Regions from separate parts of the Homo sapiens genome. Here all the other regions are linked to region 1. Evidence: promoter capture Hi-C in 16 types of primary human blood cells and fetal thymus (Javierre and others, 2016). All regions are on one chromosome and are shown on one strand. The core of a region is centred on a gene start or on the middle of the fragment in contact, and the rest is flanking DNA. Distances in the headings are between cores, read along the strand shown.

Evidence for each region. Contacts are between HindIII fragments. The CHiCAGO score rates a contact against its expected background, and 5 or more counts as called.
Region 2: a contact is called between a fragment that was not itself captured here and the fragment with the promoter of ITM2B in region 1, in 2 of 17 cell types (total CD8 T cells and non-activated CD4 T cells). The highest score is 5.6, in total CD8 T cells.
Region 3: a contact is called between a fragment that was not itself captured here and the fragment with the promoter of ITM2B in region 1, in 1 of 17 cell types (non-activated CD4 T cells). The highest score is 5.8, in non-activated CD4 T cells.
Region 4: a fragment that was not itself captured here is called in contact with the fragment with the promoter of ITM2B in region 1 in 4 of 17 cell types (total CD4 T cells, non-activated CD4 T cells, total B cells and 1 more); the score reaches 5.9 in total CD4 T cells.
Region 5: a fragment that was not itself captured here is called in contact with the fragment with the promoter of ITM2B in region 1 in 1 of 17 cell types (monocytes); the score reaches 5.0 in monocytes.

The regions. Positions count from the first base shown.
Region 1 is chr13:48,231,834-48,234,533 of GRCh38, forward strand. ITM2B (integral membrane protein 2B) reads left to right here and starts at 1,373. Exons shown (of 6, transcript NM_021999.5): 1 at 1,373-1,644. The coding sequence starts at 1,528. RefSeq lists silencers at 1,249-1,608, 1,619-1,828 and an enhancer at 1,884-2,581. The HindIII fragment of the contact is 15,181 bases long and covers 1-2,700 here.
Region 2 is chr13:48,492,886-48,495,585 of GRCh38, forward strand. The region is part of intron 14 of RCBTB2 (RCC1 and BTB domain containing protein 2); the gene reads right to left. Among named protein-coding and RNA genes, the nearest start is that of RCBTB2, 39 kb to the right of the region's middle. RefSeq lists an enhancer at 596-675. The HindIII fragment of the contact is 231 bases long and covers 1,212-1,442 here.
Region 3 is chr13:48,515,530-48,518,229 of GRCh38, forward strand. RCBTB2 (RCC1 and BTB domain containing protein 2) reads right to left here. Exons shown (of 15, transcript NM_001268.4): 5 at 57-212. Among named protein-coding and RNA genes, the nearest start is that of RCBTB2, 16 kb to the right of the region's middle. The HindIII fragment of the contact is 1,440 bases long and covers 692-2,131 here.
Region 4 is chr13:48,553,215-48,555,914 of GRCh38, forward strand. All of the region lies in intron 1 of LOC124903174 (a long non-coding RNA gene), which reads left to right. Among named protein-coding and RNA genes, the nearest start is that of RCBTB2, 21 kb to the left of the region's middle. The HindIII fragment of the contact is 1,277 bases long and covers 715-1,991 here.
Region 5 is chr13:48,655,408-48,658,107 of GRCh38, forward strand. All of the region lies in intron 1 of CYSLTR2 (cysteinyl leukotriene receptor 2), which reads left to right. Among named protein-coding and RNA genes, the nearest start is that of CYSLTR2, 2.8 kb to the left of the region's middle. The HindIII fragment of the contact is 3,977 bases long and covers 1-2,700 here.

The DNA of each region.
Region 1 (2,700 bases), core at 123-2,622:
GGAATTAGATAACATTAGATACTATGAAAGTCCAGTCCATAGAGTCAACCTCACAGAGCCGATGCCTGCACAAGGGCGACCCAGGAGTTTAAATAAGTTGCTGCAAGTATGGTTAGCTACTGTTAAAACTCACCAGAACTGGAACCTAACTCATCCTCCTCTTGGTTGAGCAGATTTCATTTTGACAGGAATTTCTGAATACCCAAAGCAAACTCAAAGTCTGGCCTGGGTTTCTATCTCAGCCCAGGATGCTTCTGAAATACATGAACAGAAGGATTTGGAGATCTTGGGCTGTTTCCCTGGGACTTATGATCTGACATTCTATGGAAATACCCAACTCCCTCCTTGAGCAGGGCCAAATCCCCAAAGATCTCAGACTGAACCCACTTTTTTCAGGGTTGGCCCAAGGCAGAGCTGACACAGCTGTAACATTCTAGAGCACACCCACAACTCTGGATGAACCAGGACAGAATGGGGTGGAAGGATACAAGATAACACATTTGTCCAAGGGGGCCGTCTGTTGACACAGTAATGAACGCAGTAACGACGGGAGCCAGTATTCTACCTCGCATTAGTTGTAAATGAAACGTCTTCAAAACATGAGAATTTTGCGTTATCCTTAATTATTTTTTCATTTTGCAGAAAAATAAAGGGACTCGTCATCGAGTACTTTGAGTCACAAATCAGCCAAGTGTGCATGTGGTTTTTTTCCAAGTACGCACAAGAGTGGAACATTTCGTTTTACGAGTGTGAGATGTTTGAAATACAAATCTGCCAAGAGCTTCCTCCACATTGGTCTGGGACTAGGCAGAACAGGCCCTGACCTCCTGAGAGAGGGAAGGAAGACCAGGCAGGTCTGAGCCAGGTAAACGCCCTTGGGTGAGGTCCGTGAAAGATAAAGTCAGATCTCAAGGACAGAGAGCTTTAAACATGTTTGTGCTCCACTGAGTCGGTTACCTAATAAGTGAGAAAATGAAGATGTGGATGCACAAAAATTCCATGGCCTTTAGGCTCGCGGTGGGGACAGGGTACAGGGAAGCGGCGGTCTGGTGCTGCCAAAGGTTAGTCCCTTGTACCCGGCGAACTCAGGAAAGTTCACTCGATTTCGCTACAAACCTGCAGCACTCGGCCTGGAGGTAACCTGGTTGGGAGCGAATTCAGAACTGGAAATTCCAGGCGGCCCAGAGGGACACCCATCCCTCTCCGAGGCGCGCCGGGATCCGGCGCCCAGCTGCGGGGCGAGGGCAGGGTCCCGCGCAGCACCCCACCCCCGGCCGCTGGCCCCGCCCCCGCCCCCGCCCCGCCTCCCAGGGGATGTGCGAGCAGTCTCCGCCCTCGCGCGGGAGCTGGGAGGCTGCGAGATCCCTACCGCAGTAGCCGCCTCTGCCGCCGCGGAGCTTCCCGAACCTCTTCAGCCGCCCGGAGCCGCTCCCGGAGCCCGGCCGTAGAGGCTGCAATCGCAGCCGGGAGCCCGCAGCCCGCGCCCCGAGCCCGCCGCCGCCCTTCGAGGGCGCCCCAGGCCGCGCCATGGTGAAGGTGACGTTCAACTCCGCTCTGGCCCAGAAGGAGGCCAAGAAGGACGAGCCCAAGAGCGGCGAGGAGGCGCTCATCATCCCCCCCGACGCCGTCGCGGTGGACTGCAAGGTCCGAGCCCGGGGAGGTCGAGGAAGCGGGTGCTGGGCCCGGCCGGGGAGGGCTGCGCGGACTGCAGCGGCAGTGCGCCCCGAGGTGGCGGGCGCGGGGCTCGCGCCGCGGGGACAAGTCCCCGAGAGAGCCCGGCGCTCCCGTTTCCTGTGGGTCCGCAGCTCCTTTGTAAGGAAGTGCGTGTGCTGGAAGCGGTGCCTGACGCGGGGTCGGGGGCTTGGGAGGCCTGGAGAGGGAACGATTGGCTAATTGTGCCGAATTCCCGGTCGTTTGTGCAGTCCGGGGAGCGTGCGTGCAGCCAGGACTTGGCTTGTTCGATCTGGGGACCGGCAGCGACAGGCACAACAACAACAACCGAGTTTGGCACTTCCTTCCCAGTATAAATAATGTACCTAAAATGGCTGACATCATTACAAGCCTAAACCTCTGTTGTTTCCCACTTTCGTTTCTAGGCTTGAACAGCACTTGGACTAAGTCCAGCAACTGTAAGCGTCTTAATTTTAAAAGCGTTTCTTTACCTCCTTTTTCCACGGCCCTTCGGTAGTGGCAGGTGAACTTCACCTGGAGAGGGGACGAAGGGACAGTCCGCCCGAAGTAGGTTTGGGCTGTCTCTTACCATTACTAGTAAAGGCCAGTAATGACTATGTGGATGTTAGTGAAAAACCAATTGTTGGCATTTAAATTGTATCAGCGTCTTTGTGAGGACTCCTGCTGCGTGAAACTAAACATGAGAAATTTGCCCCCGGGTCCCTAATAAAATTCTCCTTTATTTTACAAAATCTCCCTTTAATCCTAGGAAAATTCATGAAGTGGGGCTGTTACTGTGTTGACTTTTAGTAGGTTACGATCATATTTACTTAAATATGAGTGTAATTGTCTCATAAGTTAAAAAAGCCCACAGCCTCTTACCCAGACCCTTTTTAGGCTGCAAAAATTAGAAATTAACTGTAAAGTTATGTTGCTTATCTTATTTTTTGTTGTTGTTAGCATTTTTCAAGACCTATTATCAGTAGGGTAAATTTAGTTTTAACTTAAAAAAATTGGTGTGCCACGTAT
Region 2 (2,700 bases), core at 77-2,576, 260 kb after region 1:
TGCTTATCCAATTTGCTTATTAGACATTTCCATTTGGATGTCTAATAGACATCACATACTTCTCATATTCAAAACCAAATTTCTGATATTTCCCCCAAAATGTTGCTCCTATCTTCTATATCTCAATAGATGCCACTTTCATCCTTACAGCTGCTGAGGGACAGAACCTCCTCAGTCGTCTTTTTTTTCCTCACATCTAATCCATCCGCACATCCTGTTGGCTCTACTTTCAAAATGTATTCAAAATCTTAACCACTTTTTACCATCCCCACAGGTGATAACTTGGACCAATCCACCATCATCACTTACTGGATTATACAGCCTCCTAAGTACCCTCCTTCACACACACACACACACACACACACACACACACACTCTTCTCTCTCTCACCCTCTCTCTCTCTCCACACACACACACACACACACACACACTCTCTCTCTCTCTCTCTCTCTCTCTTCTCTTCTCTCTCTCACCCTCTCTCTCTCTCCCTACCTCCCTCCCTCCCTCCTCAACACAGCAGCCAGGAGGCAGGAGGATTACTTCAAATGCCCATCATATCTGCTCCTCTCCAAACCCTCTGATGGCCACTCACCTTGGAACTCTGATTCCTGAAACTTGCCTATGGACTCTGCAGGCCCTGCCTCCTCCCACACACGCCACTGTGCACCTCCACCGCACCATCTCCCTGCCTCATCAGCTACTTCCCTCCCCACTGTGCTCCCTCCACACCGGGCTTGCTTTTCCCAGAACACACCACCCACACCTCCTTCAGGTCTCTGCTTGAGTCACCTGCTCACTGATGTCTTGCCTCCCTGACCATTCTATTTAAAATTTCAACTTTCATCTCAGGATGGCATTCCCTAGGCTGTCTTCCCTGTCTTACTTCTTTCCATATCACTTGTCACCATCTGACATACTATATATCCTATTCATTTATTGATCACCTATCTCCCCTCACCAGAAATTCCCATGAGAGCAGAGATTTTGGATTGTTTTGTTCATTTGCAGTACCCCAGTGCGTAGGGCAGTGCCAGGCATGTAGCAGGCACTCAGTGAATATTTGTTGAATCCATGCATAAATACTCCTGATTTCAAAATACTGAGGACAATGGAGAATTGTAGTTAAACATGCGGTTTTAAAATGTGCCCAATCTTGGACTGTATCCCAGTTTTGCAGTTTACTAGTTTACTCAGATTACTTAATCTTTCCAAGCTTCAGTTTTCTCATTTATAAACTGGATCTAATATAATAATGCCTATGTCATATAAGGTTGTTTTGAGGAGTAAATGAAACATGAACTGTGCTTAGAATAATCCCTGGCTCATATTAATTATGTACTAAGTGACAGTCCAGCATGAGGGATAATAATTTGCTGAAAGAGCCCATTTCTTGCTTATTTGAGCCAGGCAAATCAAATACAGCACTGTTCTTTATTTACGAAAGCTTGTATTTTACATTAAGTACATATACAGTCTATTTTACTTATAGTCTATTATACTAATTTAGGGTACAGCAATTAGCTGGACAGGCTGTAGTACAACAGTGCATCTCTATAGGCAAAACTGAACATCCATGAAAGGGGTATTTAGTAGGTACCTACTCTGTGTCAGACACCGTCCTAGGCGCTGGGGATATGGTTGTGAGCAAAACAAAGTCCCTGCCATGCCTCAAAGAGCTTACTTTCTAGAAAACAGAGAGCTGGAAGGTAGCCAGACAAATAATTCACATAAATAGAGAATATAAAAAAGTATTAAAAATGAAGCCTGATTCAGATGCAAACACCACGTGCCACCATCTTGACATCTGAGATGGCCCTCCATCACCGTGGCTCATCACTGTGATGCTCAAGAATGGACTAGGAAAAGTGCATGGATTTTGTCTGACCATGAAACATTCTGTGTTGTAAGTGCCCAATATGTTATTGCCTTGATATAAAACATTCACTGTGCTGTTAAATGTCATTGTTTTGAGGTAGTACTTTTTTTTTAATGTTAAGTGAAAAAAAATCTAGGTTTCAAGTATTTACAAATATATAATGTGACATAAAACAAAAACTCAGAAGCTGTTATATGAAAGTGCTAATGTTCTCTGGTTGATGAGTCATTACCTTCCTCACTTTTTGTCTTTTACAAATTTTCTTTAATAAGCATAGTATTATTTATGTAAACAGAAAAAAAGTTATAACCTTTCATCTACTAAAATGTCTCTGTTTTCTTTGACCAAAGGAGAGGATATCCTTATACCAAAAGGAAACTGACTCGAAGATGTTACAGCCTGTTTCCTAAAGATTTGGTTCTAAGATTGGTTTTCTTTCCTTTCTTTATTATCATAACAATACATGGTCACTGTAAAAGTTAAAAAAAAATAAGCAAAGAGAAGAAAATAAAAATCACCCACAATCCCACCATTCAATGATAACCACTAAGCATAGTTTTCAGTCTTTTTTTCTATGTAGATAATGAATTTTAGTTTTTTATTCAGCTATTTATACTTTTTCAAAAAATAAAAATAGGATAAGTTTTTCACTTAGTGATATATCTTGAATAGCTGCATAATTTCTTGATATTAACATTTTATAAACAAGCCTCCACTATTCACACTAACCTTTTTCTGATTTTTCAAAATTATAAACTGCTGAAGTAAACACCTTTGAAGCTAAGTCTTTGTGCAAATCCATGATTAATTCCTCAAGATAAATA
Region 3 (2,700 bases), core at 162-2,661, 280 kb after region 1:
TTTGGCAAATCCATTTCTAAAAATGTGAGTAGCTGATTTATTTTCTTCAAAATTACCTCATCATTTACTGTAGTGTATAAAACTTCATTGCCAGCACTGCCAAAGACACAAGCCTGACGAATTAACTGTAGTTCTTCTTCAGAACAAAGGGAAAAAATTGGCCACTTTCCCACATCTAACATCTTCAAAGATGACAGAGTAGCCTGTACTGGCTGAAAAGGAAAAAATATATGTTGAAATGACAAATTAAAAAGTGAATTTTCTCTGCCCCTTCAGTTCTGTAGAAGAGGGCGAACACTGGTTTTGGGAGGAACACACTGCATCCATTTTTGAGAGGCCTCTCGCAGCTGCAGGGATTGCCTCTGCCAGCTGCTTTTGGGCGGCTCACAGCCATCGAGCAGCGGAGGCCCGGATGGAACCAGGTCTCCCCTACTCATTGTCCTCAAGGACACAGGAGTCATCCAAAGCTGGGCTTCTGGGAACTGAATGTTCAGCAGATACTTTAAATATTGGCTATGTCTTAAAAGTAGCTGTGGAAACTAGGCTGGTTGTAAAAGCAAGAGAGACAGAGAGAGAGAGAGAGAGAGAGAGCTGCCATGTCATCTGCTCTCTAAGTCAAGAACAATGCTTGGTAAAGAACAACGCTGAAAGTGACACCAAGGAAATGGTCCGAAGTTTTAGTTCATGGGCAAGCTTTACTTGGCCTTCAGTTTAAGGAATTGGTGGGTTTCCTCATCCCTCAAGGAAGTTTGGGGGTTGACAGGAATTAACACCCAGAAAACACGTGTACTTGTTTGTTAAGGCAGCCGTAACAAAGTAGTGACAAACGAGGTGGCTTAACCAACAGAAATTTACTGTCTTATGGTTCTGGAAACTGGAAGTCCAAACTCAAGGTATCAGCTAGCTAGCTCCTTCTGAGGGCTGTGAGGGAAGGATCTCTTCCAGGCTGTGCTTCTCAGCTTGTGGATGGCTGTCTTCTCCCTATGTCTGTTCACATCATCTCCCCCCATGCCCTGCATATCTCTGCATCTAAATTTCCCCTTTTTATAAGGACACCAATTATATTGGATTAAGGTCCACCCTAATGACCTCATCTTAACTAACCACATCTGCATTGACCCCATTTCCAAATAAGTTGCACTGTGAGGTACTGGCTGTACTTCAACACATAAATGTTGCAGGGTCACAATTAACCCCCTAACAGCATACATTAAGATCACGAGCACCCACACTCCTATAAGAGGAAGTTATAAATTTGTTTGAAAGAGTTTTACCTATTTGCTACTTAGGAGGCATTTTTATTGATATACTTTTCAACTTGCCAACATTTTGTAGGTTATAATAAGATACATAAACAGCCAATATGTCTATCAAATGGCATGTCTGCTATTTCCCACAGCATCAACAAACTTACACATTATTTAAAGCAACAAAGATTTTCTAAGGCCTCTCTTTCCCATCAGTTATTAAATCAACCTTACCGGGAATGTGGTCTGGTGTATAACTGAGTGGACTATCCACTTACCTTCTACAGATCTGAACACCTACTTGTCCCTTCCACCTTAGGAGAGCACAAGTCAGCAACTCTGCTCTTCTCAAGTCCACACTATTAACTTAGTAAGCCTCCCCTGTCCTCATTACCATGAATTTCTCTGGGGCCACCTTCACAGACTCCTGAGTACACTTCAGGAGGACAGAGACCGAGTCTTTCACCACCATGTCATCCATCCCTTGAAAGGAGCTAACAATGCAATACCTACCTTTGTGTTGGTTAATGAACAAGTAAATGAATGGCTGTGACTCATTTCCAGATTCACAGCCCTCCTTTCCATCTCATCCTCTGTAACTCCTTCACACGGAAGCCATTCCGAAAACTGGGCCCCAAATCCCTGCTCTCGGCTCCAAGCTCTCCATTTCTACTTCACCTGAGCCATATCATCAAACACAACTTTGTTACTAAGTCCTCAAACTTTTAAGTTTCCTTCTGATCACGGCCAACAGTATTAACTTGTATCCAAAGTAAAGTTTGCAGTCAGTAAAGGGAAGCTAGGATGCACGGAGCAGCTGTCCCAATGGCCACTGGACCTAAAGCAAAAACAAGCAGAGCCACCAGCTTTTTTCTTGTAAATAAAGCTTTGTTTTCAGGTTTCTATCTTTTCTGAATAATCTTCATGGCACTATTGAATGCTGTAGCTAAAAAGAGCTCAAAAGATAGTTTTCTGAGAAACCCGAAGAAACCCCAGAGAGGAGCTGCAGTGGGTTGAATGGCTTCCCCCCAAAGTCCAAATCCACCTAGAACCTCAGAAGGTGATTTTGTTTGGAAATAGGGTCTTTGCAGATGTAATGAGTTAAGATGGAGTCATACTGGATTAGAGTGGACCCTACGTCCAATGACTAGTCTCCTTAAAAGAAGACGAGAGGGCACACAGTGATGCACAGGGAAGAAGGCCAGATGACAACAGACACAGGGACTGCAGTAATGCATCTGGAAGTCAAGGAGCAGCAAGGATTGCTGGGGGCCACCACCAGAAGCTGAGAAGATTCTTCCTGAGAGATATCAAGGGAGCATTGCCCTGATGATGCCTTGATTTCAGACTTCTAGCCTCCAGAACTGTGAGAAAAGAAATTTCTGTTGTTTGAATTGTAGTCATTTGTTACAGCAGCACAAAGAAACTAACAGAGAAGACAAGCAGCTTGTCC
Region 4 (2,700 bases), core at 103-2,602, 320 kb after region 1:
TAAAGTTCATTTCACCACCAAGTGTGACATTTGTAGTAAGTTTTTAATAAGTGTTCTTGATGGTTTAAGAAAGTTTCCTTCTGTTCCTCAATTAAATATTCTTTTTGTTTATTTTAAAATCATGAATAAATGTTGAATTTTATTAAATGCTTTTATTGGGCATATATTGTGATGATCATATATTTAAAAAATTTTTTAATATGGCAAATTATATTAATATATTTTTATGCCTTAAACTATCCTTACATTCCTGTGATAAACTGGTTAGTCATAATAATTTTTTAAATTATTATTTTTAATTGACTCATAATTTTACATATTTATGGGGTACACGGTGATATTTTGATACATGCATACAATGTGTAATGATCAAATCAAGGTAATTACCATCTCCATCACCTCAAACATTTATTATTTCTTCATGTTGGGAACATTCAAAATCTTCTTTTCTAGCTGTTTGAAAATATACAATAAATTATTGTTGACTATAGTCATCCTATAGTGCTATAGAATGCTAGAACTTATTTCTCCTATTTAACTGTACTTTTGATTCCTTAACCAACCTCTGGCATCCCTTCTTCCCACTATCCTTCCCAGGATCTAGTACCATCATTCTACTCTCTGCTTCTAAGTCATGATAACATTTTTGCATACATTGCTGAATTCAGTTTGCTAAAATTTTATTTATAGGATTTGCATCTATATTTATACATAAGCTTACATTCAATTTTTCCTTCTTATATTTTCTTGCCTGGTTCTAAGTGGGGAAATGAGTCTTCTTTTCCATTAGAAATATTTATTTCTTTTTTCTTTTTTGAGATGGAGGCTCACTCTGTTGCCCAGGCTGGAGTGCAGTGGCATGATCTCAGCTAACTGCAAACTCTGCCTCCTGGGTTCAAGCGGTTCTCCTGCCTCAGCCTCCCGAGTAGCTGGGACTACAGGTGTGCACCACCATACCCAGCTAATTTTTGTATTTTTAGTAGAGATGAGATTTCACCATGTTGGCGAGGCTGGTCTCAAACTCCTGACCTCAGGTGATCTGCCTGTTTTGGCCTACCAAAGTGTTAGGATTACAGGCATGAGCCACTGCACCTGGCCTCTATTAGAAACATTTCTAATATTAAAAAGAGTTACCTGCCCCTTAAAATTTTGGTAAAACTTGTTTGTAAACTCTTCTGGGCATAGTGTTTCTTGGTATGTTTATTTTGTAAACCTTTGAATTAATTTTTTCAAAAGTTATGAGTGGGTTGAAAGTAATCTAGTACCCATGATAAGTCAATACCAGTTTTTTTCAGCAATTGTCTGTTTGGATTTGTTAGTTGTCCTTTGGTTTCGTCATTGTCTATCCTGTATCAGTTGAATATTTTAAAATATTACTCTTGGATATAGACCTATTCAAGTTTTTTATTTCTTCTTGAGTCAATTTACATAACTTACATTAAACCAAAAATGCCCTTTTTATCATGAAGTTGTTCATAGTATTTAGTTAAGTTTTAATGATCTTTATGTTAAACTCTTATTTTTCATATGGTTTATTTGTGCCTTCTTTTCTTGATCAATCTTGTCAGAGAATTACTTAGACTTTCTTATATAATTATAATTTTGGGGTGTTTACTCCATTCTTTTTTTCTAACTTTTAATTGAACATTTAACTCATCTATTTTCTATCTTAAAAATGTAGACATTTAAAACTATAATTTTTCCTCTTAGTATCACTATCTGTAATTAATAAGTTTTAAAATGCAATACTCATAGAATGTCATTCAGGTTTAAACACATCTCAAATTTAATTGTAATTGTTTCTTTCAGACTACTTTGAAATTTCAGTTTCTAATTTTATTGCCTTGTGACCGGTTTATTATGTATGCTATTGATAATTTGTATTTTAAGACTTCTTTTGTGGCCTAGAAGAGTGCTCAGTTTTTATAAATTCTCTATAGGTGCTCCAAACTTTAATTGTTGGTAAGAGTTCCTCATGTATTCTTATATTAAGCTTGTTAATATCATTTTATTCAATTTTTCTATATATTGACTTATTTTTTCTGTCTTCTGTCTTCTCTTTCACCCATCCTAATGAGATTTTCACAATTTCTCCTATTTTTTTTGCTTTATATGCATATAAGACTATATTGTTCATTGCATATGGGTTCAAGATTATTTGTTACTGATCAATTGTTTTTTTCTGTCACTAAGTCTTAATCCTTTTTATCACTAAAACCAAAGTTTTTCTTAAAGTATCTATTATCTGATATTACTTTAACTACATCATCTTCATTTTGTATAGTATTTGCCTAGTATATTTTTCTTTTTTTTTCTTTTTTCTTTCAATTTTTCTGGGTCATTATAATTTGAATGTTTTCTTATAAAAAGCTAATTTTTAAATAGTTTATAAAAAGTTTTCTTTTAAAAAGCTAATTTAACCCATTTATATTTATTGTAAGTTCTGACATGTTTGGTTTCATGTCTGCTATCTTTTTTTGTGTTTTGCATTTACTATGCTTTGTTTTTACTTTTCCCTATTACCATCACTTTTCTCTAGTGTATTTGATTTATTAAGTTTTCTTGGGCCCTCAACACTTTATTTTAATTATTTTACTAGTTACCTTAAATTTTTAGCATGCATAACTGATATGACAAACTCTAAAGTTAATTGTAATATTCTGTTACACTGAACTGTGTCTCTCAGTATTCAGGCCCTTG
Region 5 (2,700 bases), core at 119-2,618, 420 kb after region 1:
TACCTTCTCTGGACCTCATATCCTCAGGAGGAAAGTGGATAGAGTTTATGCCAGGGCTGCGTTCTGGTTTCTCCCATCAGGGACTGAAAACAGAGCCACAGCGCCTAAACCACACTGAAGCATTTGCTGTTGCACTCAGCCTGCTACAGGCTAGGAATCATCCCAATGAGACCAACAGCATGTTAATCTAATTTCTTCTTGTTTTGACTCAGTGGAGAACACCTGTTTAGTACCTTCTTTAATGAATGTAAACATTCACATAGTACTTTACTATTTACAAAACATGTTTACAGGCATCAGTTCATTTGATCCACATACTAGCCTTAAGAACTGGAGGATGTAATTCTTATTTTAAAGATGGTAAAGATGAGACCAAGAGAACATAGGATCTTTCCCAGGTGGAACCAGAACTGGTCCAATCTGGTTGAGCCCAGGGCACATGGTCCTTTCTTACAACTTAAATAATAGCTATTGTGGGAAATTGGTTAAACAAATTTCATAATGTTTATATAATTGGCTATTCTGTATCCAGTTAAATGATGACATTGATGTTGTTAGTTGGCAAAGAAAGGTGATCATGACACGAAATAAGAAAAAAGCAAGATACAAACAGCATTATAAGTGTGCTCATTTTTGTTCAAAAATATTTGTATATATTTCAAGAAAGATAAAAAAACCATATATGCAAAATTTTAGCTATGTCTGGTTGGTGGTAAAGTTCATTATTTAAGTTTATTTCAGCTTGTATTACATTGTAATTTTTTTTTACCATGAATGTGTACTACTTGTGTAATAAAAATAAATAGAATTGTTCATGTGTTTCTGGTTGGCTCTTCTCCAGATGAAATGGCCCCATCTTCTTTCACTTGACCATAAAGAAGGCTCCTGTTTAATTATCTGAGTTTTGTACATTATTGTCACAAATCTTATTGTGATTGTTAGCTAGTACTGACTGAACTCTTCACATGTGTTGGGCACCAAGTTAATCACTTAACATCCATTTTTTTTTCATCAATACTCACTCCAGTGCTCCTTTGGCAGATGAGAGTTTGAAGCTCAGACGGCTGCAGTAATAAAAGAGACTAAAAGGCAGAGTTGAAACTTAAACCCAGGTCCCTTTTAACTCAAAAGCACATGCTTTCATTCATTATATCACTCTGCCTCCTATCCACCTGGGATCACATGAGCAGCCTCCATTTTGGAGGAAAGATGATATATTTTTTCAGTGTACTCATTGCTGTGTACATGAGTACATGATGGTTACCTTGGGCATCGTTAGCATTTCCTGTGTACTCCAGAATCAAAGATCCTTTCTGCTTTTCTATAGTTTGCTCTGTGCACCAGATATCTGAGGCACTCTAGTTCCCCAAGGGTAAGCCTTTAAGATAAAAGCCTCACAAGGGATTGTGCAATTACCCAATGAACTCTGGCTAATGCGGCAGCCAAATTGGATAATACAAAGAAAGGCAAGCATTTTGCTGTGGGTGCTCAGCGTTGCTAGAGAGCTTTTTGAAATCCATGTCAGAAACCCCTAGCACTGTATTTCTTTATTTCTCAGGGTATTGGCCACTGCCTCCTTTGTACTGCAGTTACTTATGTACAGTATGTTCTATTGGACCAAGACTCTGACATTGGAGTCATTGCATAGAACCTAGCACATAAACTCCATTGAGAATAAAGGCATTGTGTAAATAAATCAATTCACCCAATGAATGCAGACTTTATTAGTTACAGCTAATGTTTATCTCTGTTGAACTTTATTAACCTCTTTATATTAATTGACCCATGGAGAAAATATAATCTTGACAGAATTTAAAGGAAAACCTCTTCCAATGGATTGATGACTTTGTGGCAGTACAGTCAGTCTTTTGACAAAGAAATCTAGTTATTATTCGAGAGGCCCAGGATAAGGGTCTAAGCAGTGAGTTGGAGTCAAGAAATTCCAAAGTCGGAAGGGTCCTTAGGAAGAGCTGGGACCAGAGGCAGAGTTTTTTTTGCCTCTTTAGTGTAAAGTCCTTAACGGAGAGGTTTCAAAAAAGTACAGGAAGCAGACTATAGAAAGAACAGAAGAAAGGAGAGAAAGGAGGGAAGTAGAGGAGAGGGGAGAGGAGGGAAAGAGATGGAAAAGGAGAGAGGAAAAGAGGGGAAGGGAGCTGGTTTACTCTGGAAGTTTAAATATTAATTAAGCTGGGAGAAATTAAAATAATTTAGTCCACCATTATTACCTACATTGTACATTATATAAATAAGAATTTATTATAAAAAAGATAATTTCCCACGTAAGTCTCCTGCCATGAGGCTGTAGAAACAGCATCGTACCTTGTTTGTACCTCTAGTACAGAAAAACAATCATCTAAAGAGTATTTGAAGGCATCCTAGATTCTTTTTTCTCTTTTGTCAAATTATTATTTTTAAAGTATTTTAAATTTGTATAAATTTATGGATTACACATGCAATTTTATTAGACGTATAGATTGCATAAATTGTGTAGTGGTCAAGTCAAGGCTTTTAGGGTAACCATCACCTGAATAACATTGTATCCCAGATTCTTTTAAGTAAGCTGGTTTCTCTTTATTTTGAGTCTTACCTTAAAAATAAGGTAAATTCGCTGAGAGATATGTAAATCTCTTGTAAATTCACTGTTCCTTTGTAAATTCACTGAGAGATATGAAGGTGACTCCCTTTTAGTTGTAAGAGGCA